Linked DNA regions of Homo sapiens: region 1 is linked to region 2. Evidence: promoter capture Hi-C in human tissues and cell types (Jung and others, 2019). All regions are on one chromosome and are shown on one strand. Each heading gives the region's core, a stretch centred on a gene start or on the middle of the fragment in contact. The rest is flanking DNA. Distances are from core to core; before and after follow the strand shown.

Region 1 (2,700 bases), core at 155-2,654, 38 kb after region 2:
GGGAGTTGCCCTGCTCAGCTGCCCAGAACCTTTCCCTGGGAGGAAACTAATCTGCTTAGCCCAGATTGGACGCAGTTCTGCACAGCACTTTTCCGAATGCCTCTGAAATGAGTCCTCACTGACAGAACGGGCCCACTCTGGGGGAACTGAGGGCTCTCTTGGTCCTGCACTGCTCTTTGCCATACAGATCTGTCTGCCCAGGATTTTTCTTGGGTGTGTAGGAGGCTGAGAGAGCTCCCCTTTCTTCTCATGGCTAAATCCCTTGGTCTTTCCAGCCCTCCTGGGGGTTAGAAGGGAGAGGGAAAAAAAAAAAGACTGAACTTGTTGTTGTTGTTTTGTTGTTGTTGTTGTTTGCCTGTTTTCTATGTTGTCTTGTGGGGAGAGGGTATAAGATTGATTGACAGAGTGGCACACTTCCCCTGCAAATTCATCATTTGAATTTCTCAGGTAAGATGTTCACATTTCTCTGTTAAGATGCTCCAATTTCTCTGGTTAAGATTTCTCTGGTAAGATGCTCATGAATTGGTGGAGGTGTTGGCGGGATGTGGGAAGTGTGCCTGCTCTTTCTGAGTTTTGGGGGAAGTTGCCTTAATTCTCTGCATGACTTTCTTTGCTCCTTTGGGCTTCATTTCTGTGCAATGTAGTCTGACATGAATACTGCTCAGGGAGGTGTTGCTTCCCACTGCCCACGCCACTGGAAACCAGTAGCCCAGGTTTACTCGAGTCCTCCTTTTGAGGAACCCAAATTCTTTCATTTCTTTTATGTGAGATCTGCCCAAAATGCCATTGGCAAGCTGTACTGGGTTGAATAGTGTCCTTCCTCCTCCCAAATGTATGTCTACTCCAAACCACAGGATACTACCTTATTTGGGAATAGGGCTTTTGCAGGTGTAACCATTAATAGTTATGATGAGGTTATACTAGATTAGAATGGGCCCTAGATCCTATGACTGGTATCCTTACAAGAAGGCCATGTGATGACAAAGACAAAGAATGGAGTGAGGCACCCAAGGAACTCCAAGGATTGCTAGGAAACACCAGAAGCTTGGAGGAAGGCATGGAACAGATTCTCCTCTCGGACCTCTAGAAGGAATCAGTCCTGCTGATACCTTGATTTTGGACTTCTAGCCTCCAGACCTGTTGGGGAGAATACATTTCTACTGTTTTAAGCTACCACGTTTGTGGCGATTTGTCACAGCAGCCATAGGAAACTAATACATACAACCTGCACAATGCCTACTCCAGCATTCCATAGCAAGTCAAGGGCCTCACAATTATGTCCAAAGGACTGATAGAAGAGCGACCTCTGTGCTACTTGCCCTCAGGACGCTGACCCACAGCTCTCAAGGCAGGAGTAGGCCAGAGCTCATTCAACAACTTTGTTATATAGGGGTTCCAATTGTAAACCTTTTGAATTCCTGTTTGCAAGTAGATGAGGGTTGAAAAATAAATGGCCACTTTCTCTAAGCCACATACCCCAATCTGTTTTGTTACTTCATTACAGCTGTTATAATGGCCTCCTCTTCTATCTTCCAATCTCCATAGCCCTGGTTCCTTGATAGTTCTTTTTTTTTTTTTTTCTTTTTTTGAGGCGGAGTCTCGCACTGTCGCCTGGGCTGGAGTGCAGTGGCACGATCTCGGCTCACTGCCACCTCTGCCTCCCAGGTTCAAGCAAGTCTCCTGCCTCAGCCACCTGAGTAGCTGGGATTACAGGCACCTGCCACCATGCCTGGCCAATTTTTTGTACTTTTAGCAGAGGTGGGGTTTCACCATGTTGGCCAGGCTGGTCTTGAACTCCTGACCTCGTGATCCACCCACCTCAGCCTCTCAAAGTGCGGGGATTACAGGCATGAGCTACCGCGCCTGGCCAGATAGTTCTTAAACAACTGCCCAGAAGTTCCAGCCTAGGCAGGGGCAGCCATGAACTGCATTGCTCATTTCTGCTTTTTGACCTTTTCGATGGCTGAACTCTAGGCCATGGAAAACAAGGACCCACTGTATAGTTAAGAGTCATTTTGTGACTAGGGAGACAAAAAAGGGCCTATTCTCCAAATCCCCTTTCCCTCTGGAGTTCCTCGGTGCCTTAAAGCTTGTCCTGAGCTACAGGTGTGTTACCTGCTTATCCCAAAATGCAGGCATGTTACCTGCTTTCCTCTGCAAAGAGAGGCAGGCCTGGCTGGGGCACAGCTGAAGATGTCAAGGCCAACCTAAGGGCAGCCAAGCTATGGCTGTCTGTGACAAGAGGAGAGCAGCGGTGATGGGAGGGTAGGAGGCATTGAGTTCATGTCCGGGTTTGCCTCCTACCCTCCTATCACTGCTTGATGATCCTATCACTGTCTTGATGAGTTCAAGACAGAAGTTTGCCTCATCATTGCCACAATAAAATCACCAATAACAGAAGTGTGAAAGCAGCGATGTGAGTGGAAGCCCATATATACACAGGGGGTAATAGAGCAGCATGATTAAATATGTGGCCTTGTTATCAGACAGGCTGATTTGGAGTCCCAGCTACTTGTTGGTGACCTGAACTAGAGGAAGTTATCTAACCTTTCATTTTACTCATTTACATAACATGGCTAATAATAGCACCTACCTTATAGGGTTATTGTGAGGATTGAATACAATTATGCAATATAAAACGTTTAGCATAGTGCCTAGTCTAAATTCCTCACCAGGGGTATGATGTACTAGTTTTTAGTT
Region 2 (2,909 bases), core at 364-2,863:
TTTAAATGAAATTCAAGACCCATAAAGGTTCAGGGGTCTGAAAGCACTCCTACTGCTCCTACTGAGCACATCCAGGATTCTGACTCCGGACTCAGGCCAGAAACCACCACACAGCTTGCTAACGGAACACTGAGTCAAAGGACCAGCAAAGACCTCCTGCCATCTCAGGCTTAGAGATTCCCTAGTCTCTACACCCCCTTAATCTGTTTGAACCAAGCCTTGCTCCAGAGCAGCCGGGCAAAGGAGCCAGGGATCTCAGGAGTCACACACACTGTTGACGTCTCAGCACAACTCCGGTTGGTTGCATTTTATTTCAATCCTTGGCTCTGCTGCACGTGGCCTTGGGATGGTTATTTAACCTAAGGCTCAATTTCCTCAACAAAAAAATGGAGTTGGTAATTGTACCTAGCTCACAGAGTTTTAGTAGGATGGCATGAGGTAATACAATCAAATTCACTAGCACCACTCCTGGCCCTTAAAAGGTGCTGCTATTTGGTAAGTATTATTATCATTTGTTGGCCCCTCACACTTAGCCTCAGGCAGCAGAGAGGCCTGAAAGAGAACAACTTCCTGCCCTTACATTCTGACTTTTCTGCACTGGTGTCGCTACAGAAGGCCAGCCACCAGGCTCATTTTAGATCTGCCTAATGCCACCGATAAGCTGAGGGCTTGAAACCCCATTCTTAGGAGTGGCTTGCCCACCCCGCATGCCTCTAGGACCAAGCCTGACAAATATAGCAGAAATTACAGGCATCTGATTTAAGGCTACGTGTGTACACTTCGCCTGAGCCAAGCCCCAAGCCCTAGTCCCGCTGCTGCATCAAAGGACCAGCTCTCTTCCAGCCTCCAGGCCCAGAGTAAGCAGCAATTTGGGAGGCAGCCCCCTCTTATTTTTAGCTTTAGAAACCCGAAAAGCCAACATACCAGAGCTCACCCAAGCGTCTCTCACAAACTGTTGTTTGACTTGGGTTGAGAAAATGACAGGCTGGGTTCTGCACCAAGAAGAGAAGAAAAAAAGAGGGGGAAAAAAGGAGTTTTCTTTTCCCTCCGCTGCCAATCTCCATCCCCCTCAACTCCTCCCCTAGGCCTGGGTGGACCCTGCCTGGGTAATAGTTCCCTGCTATATTTAAAAACCACAGATGTGTTTGGTGGAGACTTAATTTCGGAATTGCAGGCAGCGTCTCCTGAGGACAAGGGGAAAGCCGGTGCCGCGCGCCCGCCTGCTGCCTGGAGCTCCCAACTCGGCGGAATCCAGGTCAGGACGCGCCGCCGTTTTGACGTGCTGCCGGCCGGGAGGCGCGGGCGCCAGGCTCCAACGACTAGGGTGGGTGGCCGCGGGGCAGGGGTTGGATCTGAATTCGTCCCTCGGGGGCTCTGGATGCGGGATGCGGGATGCGGGATGCGGGCTCGACTTCCTCGCTGCTGGTCGAGGAGCGTTCTGAGAGTCTCCCCTCCGCGCGCGAGGATAAATATGCGCGGCTTGTCAGTCAGTGCGGCGCTGTCTCCCAGCTGATAGGGTGACGTTCCGTTTGGAGGCTTGGAGATTGGCTTTTTGATTTGGCTTCTTCCGGCAGCTTAATGGGCAAAGCTCTCCGCTCGCCCAGAAACCAGCCTCTCCGCGCGTCCCCTCTGCGCGCGGCGAGGCCGAGACGTCTCCCGCGGTGACAGCGTGCAAGGCGGAGACCCGGCGCGCTCCCAGCCCAGGGAAAGCCCAGGCGACGCGACCGCAAGCCCGAGCCCAGGTCCCTCGGAGCCGCCAGGGCGCGCCGGGCTGCTTGCCTTCCTGCCCCTTCCTGCAGGAATCCCCCGCCGCCCGCGGCCGGGACTCCGGGCCTCTCCCGGGCGTAGATTCCAGTCACCGCTCTGGGTCGGGGTTTCCCTCTTTCTGAAATCCGTGCGGAAGGACCCCTCCCGGGGCCCCTCGCCCTGGCCCCAGACACCCTCCCTCCCAGACCCCGCGCTCCAGATGCGCTGCCCCGCAGCTCCCTGACAGCTGCGAGCCCACGAACCCCGGCGGGAGGGCGGCGGCGGCGGACTGACATGCCCCGGACGCGGCTGCGGCCGGCGGGCAGCCCGCGGGGGCGATGAGCCGCTGCGACCGGTGAGGCGCCGGGCGGCGGGGGCATCGCGTACCTTCCTCACCCCCCTCCCTTGCCCACTCCGCTCGGGAGGCCGAGAGGAAACGGTGAGTAATGGGGTGAGCCTCCTGCCCTTCCCCCTTAGCGGGCAGCCGAGACATGGGAGGTAGAGGTTGGGGGGCTTGGGATGCCCCTAAGAGGATCCCTGATTGTGAGTAACGGGGTTAAGTTATTTCTCAAGATCATTCATATGAACCGCCTTCCTGTGGATTTAGTGCCAGGAGAAGTGGGGTGAGGGTGCCCCGGAAAGTGTACATTGTGTATGCAGTGTTGGGGGGGCAGATCTGGCAGAGTGGGTGTCTACAGGAGGGTGCCGCCGGGTGGGGAGGGGCAGAGAGAGATGCCTGGGCAGGTGGGTACAGTTGGATCGTGAGCATGCTGGGTTGGTAGCGGGTGCTGTTTGGGGAGACTGACTGCTGTGTTGTGTGTGCTGGATGCATGTCGGCATATGTGTGCCACCTGGGCCAGGGCGTGTTGTGCTTCTGGTGCTGTGAGTGTCCGCCGGGTTTGGGGGCTAGCAGGGAAGCGCGTTATCCACTCGGCGCGCGCCCGCGTGCACATACGCACGCACGCGCTCACCCCAATCTCGGGACTCCACCGCCGCGGGTCGGGAGCTGCAGCCCCAGAGCACCCACCGCTGGGGCCAAGGGGGCGAGGGAGAAGGAGGGTTTCTCCAGTGCTGCACTCTCCAGCCCCTGGTGGTCTGCGTGATCCGGGACTCGGTGGAGAGAATCGAAATATATAACTAACCCTCCCCCGATCCCCCAACAC

What was found. Contacts are between HindIII fragments. The study calls those that stand out against the background at their distance.
Region 1: a contact is called between a fragment that was not itself captured here and the fragment with the promoter of SLC8A3 in region 2, in 1 of the 25 tissues and cell types used here (ovary).

Annotation. Positions count from the first base shown.
Region 1 is chr14:70,150,142-70,152,841 of GRCh38, reverse strand. The region is part of intron 2 of SLC8A3 (solute carrier family 8 member A3); the gene reads left to right. Among named protein-coding and RNA genes, the nearest start is that of SLC8A3, 37 kb to the left of the region's middle. The HindIII fragment of the contact is 4,599 bases long and covers 1-2,700 here.
Region 2 is chr14:70,187,655-70,190,563 of GRCh38, reverse strand. SLC8A3 (solute carrier family 8 member A3) reads left to right here and starts at 1,613. Exons shown (of 7, transcript NM_182932.3): 1 at 1,613-2,185. It also overlaps the pseudogene LOC646548. RefSeq lists silencers at 1,639-1,968, 2,039-2,178. The HindIII fragment of the contact is 13,926 bases long and covers 1-2,909 here.